Regions from separate parts of the Homo sapiens genome. Here all the other regions are linked to region 1. Evidence: promoter capture Hi-C in 16 types of primary human blood cells and fetal thymus (Javierre and others, 2016). All regions are on one chromosome and are shown on one strand. The core of a region is centred on a gene start or on the middle of the fragment in contact, and the rest is flanking DNA. Distances in the headings are between cores, read along the strand shown. Region 1 holds the start of PLA2G4F (phospholipase A2 group IVF). Region 2 overlaps ZNF106 (zinc finger protein 106). Region 3 overlaps ZNF106 (zinc finger protein 106). Region 4 overlaps ZNF106 (zinc finger protein 106). Region 5 overlaps ZNF106 (zinc finger protein 106).

Region 1 (2,911 bases), core at 202-2,701:
ACACACTCGCAGTCACATTTGCACTCACACACTCGCTCACACTTGCACGCATGTATATACACACTCGTGTTCCCACACACTCGCACTCACATGTTTACACCACATATACACGCACTCACACACACGTATACACATGTACTCACACTTGCACTCACACATACTTGCACAGATGCCTACACGTATACTCACACATGTATACACACATGCACTCTCACTTGTACTCACCCATGTATACTCTTACACACACACACTCTCTGTTAGCCAGCCTGAGCTGAGCTCTGAGGAAGCCGCAGGGAAAGGACAGAGAGAAGGATGGAGATGGGGTCACTCACGCAGGTCTGTGCCCCGGATGTTTGTGGCCCTCAGCACCTTCACCTGGAGGTCATAGTATGGGTAGGTTTCCCGCTGCAATAACAGAACTCCAGGGACTCAGTCAGCTAGTGTGAGCCTGGTCCCTCGCCCCATTGTTCCCCTCGTCCCATCATGGAGCAGCAACCTGGCATAGGGTCACTGACGTCTCTGTGCCGGGGAGCAGGGAGACCTTGGCGGGTCCCAGGCATTGGGAGTTCAGCACCTTCGTGATGTGTCTGGACCCTGGAACCCATCCGGTCTGGGTTCAAATCTAAATCCAGCACGGACTCACTGAACTAACGATGGCTGTCACGCACCACACACCTGCAGCTCCCCTCAGACGCTCGCGCCCCCACTCTAGCTTGGGAGCAGCTGTGAGAGCTGTGCTAATGTTGTGCTTGAGAAGATTAAATATTAAAAGAGAAAACTGTGACACCCCCTCCCTTGCTTGCTCCCTGACAGAGGCTCAAAGACCGTCTAGGAGGCAGCGAGCAGGTGAGCGGAAGCCGAGAGTCACCGGCCGGCCGGTACCGGTCTGACGAGTCACCGAGCAGATTGCAGCTGGGCTTAGGAGAGATAACATCAGCATGCTGCCTACTGGGAGGGAAACTCTCCCCTCACAACCCCACCAGCTCCGTGGACTCTACAGCCAGGCTCGCGCATCCTTGGTGAAAGCCAACCCACCCCAGACAAGTGTCAAGTGAACTAACCCTCCATTTCCTAATCGGAGGGAGCTATTTTTAAGAGCCAAGGTCTAATTTAAGCTCTGCCAGGTCATCTAGAATAAACAGGTCCCACCCCAACTCAAAACCCAGGGCTGGGGCTGGTCTCAGTCTTCACAGGGCACTGCAGCTCCCAGGACTCCCCCAGTCCGGGTTTCCCAGGTAATCTCAGGTACGTTACCCGCCAGTGCCTCCACAGAGGGCCCCTCTTCTCTCTCTTCTGAAGCAGCACTGCCCCCAGGAGGGGCAGCATCTTGTCTGCCAGCCACCTTGGCCAGAGTGCCCAAAGCATGGCTGGGCAGCCCGGGCCCCAGCAGGGAACCCTGCCTGCGCTCCTCTGGTTGCACAAACTGCTGGCTCAGGTGTGACAGGCAGCACTGAGTTGGGAGGGTGGAGCTGCCTGCTCTGCAGAGAACTCAGGCTGGATGGCCTGCTGGAGGTGGAGTTTGACATGCTCCAGGAAGTGACTGGAGCTTAATTTCCCCAGGCAGGAGGCAGCTCAGTCCCTCTCCAAGAGACTCTTGGGGTCTCTGGTTAGCACTCTTGTTCCCAAACCCAGCGCCCTGGTTATCACTGGGCTGTTTGTGAAAAATAGACACCGGAGCTATTTCCAACAAGACCTCTAGGTGAAGCTGGCACAGCTGGCCCAGAGACCAGCTGGCAAGTGCAAATCAGGGAAGAGTCTCCTCCAGCTGTGGAAAAGGCCTGAAACTAGCCACCCTTCAAGTCCCACCTTCCCTGCGGCTCTTAAGCTGAAGCCTAGAAATCTCTGCTTCAGTGTTTCATCTGGGATCAAAGATGTTTCTCTCTTTATATATATTTTCTAATTATACTTTAAGTTCTACGGTACATGTGCACAACGTGCAGGTTTGTTACATGTGTATACATGTGCCATATTGGTGTGCTGCACCCATTAACTCGTCATTTACATTAGGTATTTCTCCTAATGCTATCCCTCCCCCATGCCCCCTGCCCCCCGACATGCCCCGGTGTGTGATGTTCCCCGCCCTGTGTCTAAGTGTTCTCATTGTTCAATTCCCACCTATGAGTGAGAACATGTGGTGTTTGGTTTTCTGTCCTTGCGATAGTTTGCTCAGAATGATGGTTTCCAGCTTCATCCATGTCCCTACAAAGGACATGAACTCATCAAAGATGTTTTTAATCTCTCCTGACCACCCTCATTAATTCGCCAAACACCAAGAGCCTGGTGGGTGCCAGACCTGTGCTAGGCCCAGAAACGCAAAGGTGACAGAGGTGAGGCGGGCCCATCCACATCCTGGAGAAATTCAGTCTCATGACTCCCTGTGGCTTTGGCCCAGGCTCGCTTCCTGGGTCAGTGTACAGTGTCCAGGTACAGACAGGCATATGGGCAGGGGGTTATAAATAAGGACAGGCCAAACAACAAGTCTACGTATCCTTCAGCGACCAGATATACAGGCTTTAGCATTCTCTTTGGCCATCGTAGGCCTTAGGCTGCAGATGGATGTGATGTTCGCTCTTCTGTGGACCACAACCATCAAGGTGGCTGAGACAGGCACAGTCTCCAGGAAGAGTGAGGATCTCGGGGGCCGTGAACTGTGGGAGGGAGAGAATTTCTGTCCCTCAACTAAGATTCAGTCATCTCCACTCTTCCCAAGGCCTAGAGTCACAGGCTGAAAAATACAACATCCAAAAAAGATGTGATTCAACTCCAAAATGAACCGAATGGGCAAGTTCAGACCAGAAACTCCCCCCAAAAAAGGAATGTGTGACTGCCAGTGACCAGGCCCCAAAGAAGGGCCTGTTTCTGCTTTATTTGGATTGTGAAGCCAAGACTTGGCCTGGGCTCTAAGAAATGA
Region 2 (2,911 bases), core at 175-2,674, 320 kb after region 1:
GGCAGATCACGAGGTCAGGAGTTAGAGACCAGCCTGGCCAACATGGTGAAACCCCGTCTCTACTCAAAATACATAAATTAGCTGGGTGTGGTGGCAGGTGCCTGTAATACCAGCTACTCAGGAGGCTAAGGCAGAATTGCTTGAACCCAAGAGCGGAGGTTGCAGTGAGCTGAGATTGCACCACGGCACTCCAGCCTGGGCGACAGAGCAAGACTCCAACTTTGAAAAAAAAAAAAAAAACAAGTTTAAGTTAGAACATATACAGGTTGAAAATTCCAAATCTAAAAATCTGAAATCTGAAATCTGAAATGATCCAAAACCGGAAACTTTTTGGGTGTCAACATGATGCTCAAAGGAAATGCCCGCTGGAGCAGTTTAGATTTGGAATGTTCCGATTTGGGATGTTCAGCCAGTAAGTACGCAAATATTCCAAGATCCGAAAAAATCTGAACTCCACAACACTTTTGGTCCCAAGCATTTCGGATAAAGGAACTCAACCTGTATGTAATTCCTCTGCTCAGAATTTCCCAATGGCGTCCATCTCACTCACAGAAAACCTAGTCTTTGCCATGGCTACAATATCTGTTTCTCTCTTCCTCTCCGAATCATTCGCATGCCCTCCCGTTCTTCCTCTATCATTCTGGTGCACTTGCATTCCCCTCGTTGCTATTCTTTGTTCACATCACAGATCCTCCCACCTTTGCACCTCTACATTTTCTGTTCTCTGCCTGGAATATTCTTCCTTAAAAAGTCCTTATGGTTCCCGTGGCTCATTCATTTCCATCAGGTATCTAAAATATTGCCTTATGGGAGAGGCCCTGCCTAACCCTCTACATAATATTGCACTTTCTGACACCCCACCTCTCCACATAGTTCCAGTTTCTCTATTCCCCTATTAACCTGCTTAATTTTTTATAGCACTGTGGTAGATCATGTTTCCATAGAAGGCCTCAACAATATCTGCTACCCCATGTGCTCTTTTGCAATGTGATCTTGCCACCATCCATGAAAAGGTGGATGGAGTCTGTTTCCCCTCCCTGTGAACTATTTTGATCAATAAAATGTGGCAGAAGTGATGCTGTATAACTTAAGAGGCTGGGCTTTCAGAAATCTGTACCTTCTGCCTCTGCCCACTTGTTACACTCCCTCTTGAAAGCCAGCCACCGTGCTGTGAGAAGCCAAAGCCACAGGGAAAGGCCAGGTAAAAAAAGAACTGAGGCCCCCACTGAGTACCCAAACAACAAGCAGGACCAACTGACAGCCAGAAGCGTGAGCCATCTTGGGGGCTCCAGGTCCAGCCACCAATGAGAGACCCCCAAGTGAGACCAATACATACACCATCCAGATAAGCCCTCTTCAACCCAGAGAATTGTGAGACACAATACAAGAGTTGTTTTAAGCCAGGAAATTTTGGAATAGTTTATGAACAAGTGACATCTGGAACATTATCTTTTACTACCTGACATAGTATGTATTTGTTATTCTCTGTCTCTGCCAATTAAAATTTAAATTCCGTGAGAAAAAGGACTTTGCATATTTTGTTCACTAGTATAGTTCGGTCTAGCACTTAGAACAGTGTATGACATATCATAAGGAATTCAAAAGTATTTGTTGATTATTCCAAATGGAACTATCCATCTTGGGTTACTAAATGTGAGTTTAGTAACTGAGCTGAGTAAATAGCAGGGTTTGAGGCCAGGCACAGTGGCTCACAGCTGTAATCACAGCACCTTGGGAGGCTGAGGTGATAGGATCACTTGAGGACAGGAGTTCAACACCAGTCTGGGCAACATAGTGTCTCTACAAAAAATGAAAGAATTAGCTGGGTACTATGGCTCATGCCTGTAATCCCAGCTACTTGGGAGGCACAGCAAGGAGGATTCCTTGAGCCCAGGAGTTTGAGGTTATAATGAGCTATGATTGTGCCACTGTACTTCCACCCTGGGTAAGAGTAAGGCTCTCTATAAAAAGAAAGAAAGAAAGAAAGAAAATACCAGGGGTTTAGATTAAGACTCAACAATGGTTTACTCTTTCATAATCCTCTGGCACTAGCACACTTTCCTCAAGTCCCTGCTAGAGATGCTCTATATGAAATTTTAAATCTACTCCCCAAGCAGCATTGTTCCTTCTTCTACAGAAAACATCAGGCTCTAATAGATCTGCTTCCTCATTTGGGGTACATTCCTTAGGAGATTTTAAAACTGTGACATAATGAGGTTACAAACTACCACAGTTTAATCTGTAACTCCTAGATAATATGGCAGAAGGACCAATGAAAGAGGCCTAAGGTTCTCCACTCCTGTGATTACTCGGCAGTTTTCTTGCCATGCAACCCACTTCATAATATTACTGAATGCCTAAATAATTTTATTCAATAATAAAGTTCAGGCCAGGCATGGTGGCTCATGCCTATAATCCCAGCACTTTGGGAGGCCGAGGTGGGTGGATAACTTGAGGTCAGGAGTTCAAGACCAGCCTGGCCAACATGTCTCTATTAAAAATACAAAAATTAGCTGGGTATGGTGGCACGTGCCTGTAATCCCAGCTACTCGGGAGGCTGAGGCAGGAGAATCGCTTGAACCCAGGAGGCAGAGGTTGCAGTGAGCCGAGATGACGCCCCTGCACTCTAGCCTGGGCGACACAGCGAGACTCTGTCTCAAAAAATAAAAATAAAAAATAAAATTCAAAACACTAAAGTAAGATTATCGGGTAAAAATATGGACATTTAAGAAAGCTGAATGTCAATTAGCTACCAAAACAAAGAAATATACCTTTGTGGATAGGTACAGTATTATTTATACTTTCCATATTACTAATAATCTCTTAAATCTCAAACAGAAATGTTAAGTGCTGTAGCATACTACTTCTAACTGCTTTATAATGTAACATCTACTTCAACTTTAATTACTAC
Region 3 (2,911 bases), core at 109-2,608, 300 kb after region 1:
AGTGCTCAAAATACTGAGTACTGCTAGCTAAAATTTACTGAGTACCTGAGTGTCAGGCATTTAATGCTAAGCACCTTATATAGATTATCTCACTTAGTTTTTATAATCCTGAGGCAAGTATTTTTTTTTTTTTTTTGGAGATGGAGTCTCGCTTTGTCGCCCAGGCTGGAGTGCAATGGCACGATCTTGGCTCACTGCAACCTCTGCCTCTCGAGTTCAAGCGATTCTCCTGCCTCAGCCTCCTGAGTAGCTGGGATTACAGGCTCCCGCCACCACGCCTGGCTAATTTTTGTATTTTTAGTAGAGACGGGGTTCCACCATGTTGGCCAGGCTGGTCTTGAACTCCTGACCTCGTGATCCGCCCACCTCAGCCTCCCAAAGTGCTGGGATTACAGGCATGGCATGTATTCTTATTATTCCTACTTTATAGATGAGAAATTGAGCAGTAGAGAGAATACATAACTTGCCTAGAATAAGATAGCCAGAAAGCAGTAGAGCAGAGATTTAATCCTTGGCAATCTGACTCCAGCCAGAGTCTATACTCTTAACCACAGGCCTTCAGAGAATCAACATCTCAAAACAAAGTTTCCACATTTAAGTTCCTTCCTCTGACCTTGACTTAAAAATCTTAAACTCAATACTGACTTTAATTGGCTTTAAAGGCTTTCAATGTCTATGATATTTTGGACACAAATTGGAACTTCTTCCTTTTTCACAAGACGGAATTTAAAAGTCTATTTAGAAGTTCAAACATCCACTCATATTATATAAATTACAATCATTTCTAAACAGGAGACTCTTTAGAAAGTAACAAGTATTATTACATGCAGTAGCAGAATTTTTTTATAACCATTAACCAAATTGCCTTTATCTTTTGATTCTATGCAATATGCAACTTCTGGCATCCAAGGAGACCACTGACTCAGCTATACTGATATGATCAGAAATGGGAGAACTGGGGGATAAATAAATCACAAAGTAGAATTCCTAGATCATCATGAATTGGCTAGATTCAGAAGATAGGAGCATTCAGCTAAACCCATAGACCAGAAAGAATAATCTAAGTTAAAAATTCATGAAGGAAAAAAGAAAAAAAAAAATACTCCTGAAGAAGTAGATGATTTTGTCCAGGTGTGGTGGCTCATGCCTGTAATCTCAGCACTTTGGGAGGCCAAGGTGGGTGGATCACTTGAGCCCAGAAGTTCGAGGCCAGCCTGGGTGACATGGCTAAACCCCATCTCTACCAAAAATAAAAATAAAAAAAAAAAAATTAGCCACGCATGGTGGCGATGCATGCCTGTAGTTCCAGCTTCTCGGGAGGTTGAGGTGGGAGGACTGTTGGAGCCTAGGAAGTTGAGGCTGCAGTGAGGTGTCATCGTGCCACTGCACTCAAGCCTGGGTGACAGACCGACACCCTGTCTCAAAAAAAAAAAAGAAGTAGATGATTTTATAAATAGGTCATCAAGGAGGCACATCAAAAGACTCAAAAAATAGTAACTATGATACAAATGTCTAATCTATTCTGACTTAATGTTTAATTATTTACACAGATAAAGCTAATAATGGCACTAGTATGTAAGAACAAAATAGAAGTCTCCCAGAGGCTCCAACTGCCTAAAGCAGGATAAAGTAAACTGCAACTATATTAAAAGTAATGAAAATGTCATTTGAAGGACTAAGCTACTAAATGATTTAAGAACCATGTGGTTTGAGTGTCCCGTATCTGAAATGCTTGGGACCAGAAAGGTTTTGCATTTCAAACTGCTTTGGATTTTGGAATATTTTTGCATATACATAATGGGATATTACGGGAATGGGACCCAAGTCTAAACATAAAATTCATTTATGTTTCATATACACCTTTTATACACAGTCTGATGATAATTTTAGGTAATATTTTGAATAATTTTGTAAAATGAAATGAGGTGTGGAATTTTCCACTGGTGGCCTCATGTTGGCACTCAAATGTTTTGGATTTTGGTGCATTTTCAGACTTTGGATTAGGGATGCTCACCCTTTACTGATATTTTAAGATGAAGAAAGTCTCCTTCAAGGAATTGTTCAAAAAACTTTTTTTTAATTTTAATTTTTTGTTGTTGTTATTACATAGATAAGGGCTTCCTATGTTGCCCAGGCTGGTCTTAAAGCCCTGGCCTCGTCTCCTCATGCACCAGGACAATAGGCCTGAGCCACCGTTCCTCCCGGCAAAAAAACTTTTAACATATAGAGTAAAAACAACTTCCTTTTTATAGTTAAGCCTCTGACTAAAAAGGAGGTACAGACGGGGTATAACTAGTATTCAAAGAAGAATCTTTAAATTTTTATTTTAGAATCTGAAATGATTCTCTTCATGTTCTGGGACTTAAAAAATTATCCCACCTCATAAGTGCTTCTCTCTCTCTTTCCCTCACATTGAAAATTTCTACCTCATTAATTAAACTCTTTTTAACAAATTTTATAATTAAACTCTTTAGACCAGAAAGCAGTAAGGTAAAAACATAAATGCCTAATACCTGAATGTATAAATGTAGGTATGAAATTATGCAGTACAAATTAGAAAATTTATATTGCTTAAATTATCTTGACACTTATCAAAAAAAATTTATTCAAGAAAGCACTGTGGTAGTCACTGGGGATTCAAAGACAAAAAGATAAATCAAATTTGGCAGAAGCAACACGTTAATTCACACCAGTCAAAAAATATTTTCCTAAGAAATGTTATTTGGCAGTAAGACTATACTATATACTATAGACTACACTGTTATTTTGGCGATACGACTATACTATATACTATACGATTTATACAATGAAGCTTATATTCTAACACCTTTCCACTGGAAAATTTAAACGCCAAATAAAAACTTATTGGTATTCAAAAGATTTGGATACTGGACAGGTACGGTGGCTCACG
Region 4 (2,911 bases), core at 159-2,658, 280 kb after region 1:
TTATGAGATATAGGAGGATTAGATAATATATTTCCTCAACAAAAAGATGCTAAAACATTCAGTTCACTGCTGTATCCTCATGTCTAAAACAGCACCTGGTACACAAAAGATGCTCAGTAAATGTATGTTCACCAAGTGCCTAGCAAACAGTCACAGGCAATGAGGTATCTGAAAGTATATGTTAGTTGAGCCATACCAGAAAATACTTATGGCAACACTGTAAGACAGCCAGAATTTTAATTAACGTTTAGGGCAAAGCTTTCTGACATATGGACCAAGGACCTAGCAAATCCAAACTGCAGCTAATTTCCCACAAAAGATGAGCATTTGATAAGCAGTTTGTGAGAATGCACCATGGTATTCAAAAACGTCAGGTGCTATCACAGGTCTAGTGGTTCTGGTGTTGTTTCTTTTTTTTTTTTTTTGACAGAGTCTCGCTCTGTCCCCCAGGCTGGAGTGCAGTGGCGCGATCTCAGCTCACTGCAAGCTCTGCCTCCTGGGTTCACACCATTCTCCTGCCTCAGCCTCCCAAGTAGCTGGGACTACAGGTGCCCGCCACCACCCCCGGCTAATTTTTTGTATTTTTAGTAGAGATGGGGTTTCACCATGTTAGCCAGGATGGTCTCAATCTCCTGACCTCATGATCCACCCACCTTGGCCTCCCAAACTGCTGGGATTATAGGTGTGAGCCACTGTGCCCGGCCACTGGTGGTGTTTCTTATGGGTACATTCCAAATGTTATCTCAGTGCACATACTGAGATCTATTTAGAATGTACATATATACATACACATACATATTTTGATATCCTGTTCCCCTAGATCTTACACTTATACATCCTGGTAGCACTGCTTCCTTTTTTCAGTCATTCGTGTTAATCCTCATATCATTAAGCTAAAGGAATCTACACACCTGTTGCCTATATAGCAAACACATTTTCCTGGTCCATCATCTAACTTTTTAATTTTCACTGACTCTAGCAATTTTAAATATTTTCATGGTATTCATTCAGACATCATGTTCTTCAAATTTCTTAAGCTTTCATTGTTCATAAACATAATTAGTTTATTAACAAATTCAAATTCAAAACTCAAAAGTTCATTCTTTTGAGAGTAATAAGCATCAGATAATACTAAGTGTGAGGCAGTGGAAAAGTGTTGCTCTCCTTAATAACTTGAACTCTGTAATCAATCACTTGTCAGGGAAAATACCTCCTCCAGTACTTCCCCATATTCACTTCATCCCTCCTCTATTATGTAGCTGCTATGCAAGTGACCCCATTACCAACTCCAGCATTGGGACCTGAACAGTCCAAGACCACTGGTGTAATCCCAACCCCCTTTGCCACAGGCAAAGGTGATCGTTCAGGGAGTAAAACACAGGACCCTTCTGTGCTGGTGGGAGGGAAAAAGAGACTCCAGTGGCTCCTGACATTTACCCTGTAAGCAGGAGGGGAACTAGCTTTCAGGAAGAGGTGATACCAGAGAAGGCAGAGTAGGGAGACAAAAAGAAATTAAGTCCCCAGTGACCTTGCTGAGCTTCTGGATTAAATGCATCTAAAGTCAATCTCAGGCCCACCCCTTCCTTCAGACAGCCAACAAATTCCCTTTATTGTTTAAAAAAGTATAAACTGGATTTTCCAAAACCTGCAACCAAAAACATTCTACATGTTCTATCAACTTACCACCAGATTATAAACCCGAACAGTTTTATCTGCTGAACAGGTATATAGCAAGTTCCCAAATATCTGAATTGCATTTACGGCAGCTTGGTGTCCCTCAAAGCTTCCTTCTGTGGGTTCATCATCATCTCCTGGCTCTGAAGATATTTCTGGAAAACAAGAATAGGTTTCAGAGACATGTCTGCTAGAGTCTGAAAAGATACTCAAAAATCAGAACTATTATACAATACAGTAGTCCCTAGATTAAACCAAAAGTAGATCCCTTAAATCTTAGTTCCCCTATCAGACTACTACAATTTTCAATACCCATCTTCACTATGAAGACTGCATGATAAGCAAAGGCAGAGAAGGCCTTTCACTTAGGAAAAAGATAGATAATTATATAATGAGCTTTTGGGCCAGGCGTGGTGACTCACACCTGTAATCCCAGCACTTTGGGAGGCCAAAATGGACGGATCACCTGAGGTCAGGAGTTGGAGACCAGCCTAGCCAACATGGTGAAACCCCATCTCTACTAAAAATACAAACATTAGCCAGGTGTGGTAGCGTGAGCCTGTAGTCCCAGTTATTTGGGGAGGCTGAGGCAAGAGAATCACTTGAACCCAGAGGCAGAGGTTGCAGTGAGCCAAGATCACACCACTGGACTCCAGCCTGGGCGACAACGACTCCGTCTCAAAAAAAAAAAAAAAAAGAAAAAGAGCTTTGAGTGATACTTGGAAGGTATCCAATCTCTCCCACACTTCCAAAAAGTTATTTCTTTGAGTAATGTAGTATTCCTTAAGCAGTTCCTTCTGAAAGCAAATATCCTTAGAGCCAATGAAACCTTAATACTAATTAGTTGAACAGATAAGGGAGCCGGATAAGACAGATGAGAAAGGCCAGGCATGGTGGCTCACGCCTGTAGTCCCAGCACTTTGGGAGGACAAGGCAGGAGGATCACTTGAGGCCAGGAGTTCGAGACCAGCCTGGCCAACATGACGAAACCCTGTCTCTACTAAAAATACAAAAAAAAATTTGCCAGGCGTGATGGCGCGCACCTGTGGTCCCAGCTATTTGGGAGGCTGAGGCAGGAGAACTGCTTGAACCTGGGAGGTGGAAGTTGCAGTGAGTAGAGATAGCGCCACTGCACTCCAGCCCAGGTGACAGAGCAAGACTCTGTTACAACCAGTCAATCAATCAGATAGATGAGAATAAGAATCTGAAAGACCAGGATTTGAGGTTTTAAGAATAT
Region 5 (2,911 bases), core at 214-2,713, 260 kb after region 1:
CTTTGCTGTTAGAGTTTTGTTTGCATGGTGTGGAACTGCTTTATAAACTGAGTAGAGACGTATGCCAAAATTATTTTTAACCTAATTAAAAACTTTCACAGAAAACTTGAAGTGACTGATACTTTATCACAACGAACTGCCATTTAAACACTAGCATAGGTACACAAAAAGATTTATACTATGGTTTTCTTGGCTTTAAGCCATTAGAATTAGACAAAAGCAACCGAGAGTAACATTCTAAAAGTGGCTTCAACTACTTTAAAGACATGAGTCAGTTTTTGTCAGGTCATTTAATGGTTTCTTTCCTTCACAAAGCCACTAAATGCCAGAGTCAACACAGATCCCTGAGCCATAGCTCTTCTCTGAGGGGAAACAGGGTTATAATCAGTCACAACATTGTGGAAGACATTAAAAAAAGAAGGCAAAGTTCTGTATAATTTTCAAGACTCTTGTAAGTAGTAACACACAGCCATAAGCAGCCAAAATGCTTATGGTCCCTTTATTTCTTAATAGAGGGCTAGAACCGTTCATTTGGGGTAACACACTAATCTGGTGTTAAAAGAATTTCATGTGTTCTTGAAACAAAGGCATACTGCCACTGCTTCAAAAAAAGCCTTTGTGAAATGAAGAAAAATATGACAAACACAGGTTCCCACACGTACACATACATACAAAGGAACCTGCACACTTGCACACACACAGGCAGGTATAGGCACACAGTTCCACCAAAGCGAAGTCCAAATCAGAGTTCTTACCGATTCTACCACTCTGTAATACTCTCAGAAGTTCCCACAACTGCCCAACACCTCACCTACCCGTTTCCTGCTGCACAAAGTCTCCTTCACTCTCATCTTTTCGATACATCGTCAGGCAGGGCAGAAGGGCACTACGCCGCAGAGCATTCGAGGCTCTCAGCACACTGCCAGCCAGCGTGAAAATGCGGCTTCACTACAGCCCAGAGAAAAGGGCCAGGTTTAGTCATCGATCCAGATGCATTTTCCCGGGAAATGACCATTCCCAAACCCACAGAACAGTTTGGCTTCTCTGGATATCCTTATAGGAAATAGGGGTGAGAGGTGGGAAAAGCTTCTCAATCTCATACAGAAACAGCACAAATATTTAATACACCTTTTGCAACAAGATCTTCTCTGTTCTCCATTAAGCATCATGTAAATCTCACTAGTGTGGTTAACAAAATGGCTTTCCCCAAGGACAGAAGTCAAGAGCTTGTGGGGCCATATATTATCTAGTACTAGGCCATTCATTATCTCCTAGATTAACTCTTTTTTTTTTTTTTTTGAGGTGGAGTTTCACTCTTGTCGCCCAGGCTGGAGTGCAGTAGTATGATCTTGGCTCACTGCAACTTCTACCTCCAGGGTTCAAGTGATTCTCCTGTCTCAGCCTCCTGAGTAGCTGAGACTACAGGCACATACCACCACACCCAGCTAATTTTTGTATTTTTAATAGAGACGGGGTTTCACTATGTTGGCCAGGCTGGTCTCAAATGCCTGACCTTGAGTGATCCACCCGCCTCGGCCTCCCAAAGAGCTGGGATTACAGGTGTGAGCCACCAGGCCCGGCCTCCTAGATTAATTCTTGACATTTTTTGGATCAAGTAAGAACCACTGGAGCCTTTCCTGGAAAAAAGAACACATACTCAGTCTCACACACAATTTCTGGGGGCTCACAGACCCTCTTGAAGCCTATCCATAAACCCCCTGGTGAAGTCCCCCTGCCCGATAGCCTGAGGGAAGACATGTGAGTGGATATATGTGCACTAACAGGGGCGAAGACAGACCTGGATGGTCTGCAATCCCAGAGAGCATGAGGCACCATGTCCCAAAGCTTGGTATGTGGCCCTGGGCTCCTCCCCCAATTTTATCTCTCTGAAGAAGCTGAGTTTTTTTTTTTTTTTTTGAGACGGAGTCTCACTCTGTCACCAGGCTGGAGTGCAGTGGCACGATCTCAGCTTACTGCAATCTCTGCCTCCCGGGTTCAAGCGATTCTCCTGCCTCAGCCTCCTGAGCAGCTGGGATTACAGGCGCCCACCACGCCCGGCTTTTTGTATTTTTAGTAGAGACGGGGTTTTGCCATGTTGGCCAGGCTGGTCTGCAACTCCTAGCCTCAGGTGATCTGCCTGCCTCAGCCTCCCAAAGTGCTGGGATTACAGGCGTGAGCCACCACGCCCGGCCACGTTCTGAGTTTTGAGGATCCAGAAACAAAAGGCTGGAAAGCGACACTTCTACAGGTTTACTGATGAGTCCGGAGAAAATCCAAAAACAAAGCCCCACTGAGGGTTTGTGAATTTGGCTGTTCTCAGTGGCCAGGCAGAGTCTCTGCTCCACTCTTCTTTCCCAGCTAGCAGGGAAGTGAAGGCAAAGAACTGTCTCAGAAACAAGTCTCTAGGAAGTCTGCTTGAGGTCCTGAAAACTGTATTCAGATGCTTTATTCTAACCCCCTCTCCCCCACCATCTTAGTTGCTGCAGGGGGGTGGAAAACACCCCGTGAGCCCAGAGGAATATTCGATGGCTGCCATCGGTCTAGGCACGGCCATACAGTGGGAGAGATGGAGGCTGGCAACTGAACAAACCAAAAGGGTTCAAACCAACATTAGGCTTGCAGGGTCAGACACTAGAAAGGAAGATAAAGGTACACCTCCAGTTCAACAGCCTGACAGGATCTGTAACAGGTAGTGCCCAGGTTCAACAGCAGATGTAAAGGTAGACGTTAGGTCTACGCACTGCCTCACACTGAGCTTTCTATCCACATTTACAGAGATTTACTAGAAGTGGTGTCTGTAAGGACTTGTCACTATGTGATTTGCTTCCTGAATTCCTAAAAGATAGTCAGCAGAGCAGCCACTGTTTGTCAAAAATCTACTGTGTCCTTTAGCACTTAAAGCCAGCTCTAT

The links. Contacts are between HindIII fragments. The CHiCAGO score rates a contact against its expected background, and 5 or more counts as called.
Region 2: a fragment that was not itself captured here is called in contact with the fragment with the promoter of PLA2G4F in region 1 in 2 of 17 cell types (endothelial precursors and megakaryocytes); the score reaches 5.9 in endothelial precursors.
Region 3: a fragment that was not itself captured here is called in contact with the fragment with the promoter of PLA2G4F in region 1 in 2 of 17 cell types (megakaryocytes and endothelial precursors); the score reaches 6.3 in megakaryocytes.
Region 4: a contact is called between a fragment that was not itself captured here and the fragment with the promoter of PLA2G4F in region 1, in 1 of 17 cell types (endothelial precursors). The highest score is 5.8, in endothelial precursors.
Region 5: a fragment that was not itself captured here is called in contact with the fragment with the promoter of PLA2G4F in region 1 in 1 of 17 cell types (endothelial precursors); the score reaches 5.2 in endothelial precursors.

Annotation. Positions count from the first base shown.
Region 1 is chr15:42,155,185-42,158,095 of GRCh38, forward strand. It overlaps PLA2G4F (phospholipase A2 group IVF), which reads right to left and starts at 1,452. Exons shown (of 20, transcript NM_213600.4): 1 at 1,255-1,452; 2 at 333-405. The coding sequence starts at 1,365. RefSeq lists an enhancer at 1,177-1,892. The HindIII fragment of the contact is 5,494 bases long and covers 1-2,911 here.
Region 2 is chr15:42,472,784-42,475,694 of GRCh38, forward strand. The region is part of intron 1 of ZNF106 (zinc finger protein 106); the gene reads right to left. Among named protein-coding and RNA genes, the nearest start is that of ZNF106, 17 kb to the right of the region's middle. The HindIII fragment of the contact is 4,164 bases long and covers 1-2,911 here.
Region 3 is chr15:42,453,477-42,456,387 of GRCh38, forward strand. The region is part of intron 4 of ZNF106 (zinc finger protein 106); the gene reads right to left. Among named protein-coding and RNA genes, the nearest start is that of ZNF106, 36 kb to the right of the region's middle. The HindIII fragment of the contact is 2,903 bases long and covers 1-2,810 here.
Region 4 is chr15:42,435,549-42,438,459 of GRCh38, forward strand. ZNF106 (zinc finger protein 106) reads right to left here. Exons shown (of 22, transcript NM_001366845.3): 13 at 1,684-1,829. Among named protein-coding and RNA genes, the nearest start is that of ZNF106, 54 kb to the right of the region's middle. The HindIII fragment of the contact is 746 bases long and covers 1,036-1,781 here.
Region 5 is chr15:42,413,840-42,416,750 of GRCh38, forward strand. ZNF106 (zinc finger protein 106) reads right to left here. Exons shown (of 22, transcript NM_001366845.3): 22 at 1-2,911. Among named protein-coding and RNA genes, the nearest start is that of CAPN3, 56 kb to the left of the region's middle. The HindIII fragment of the contact is 759 bases long and covers 1,085-1,843 here.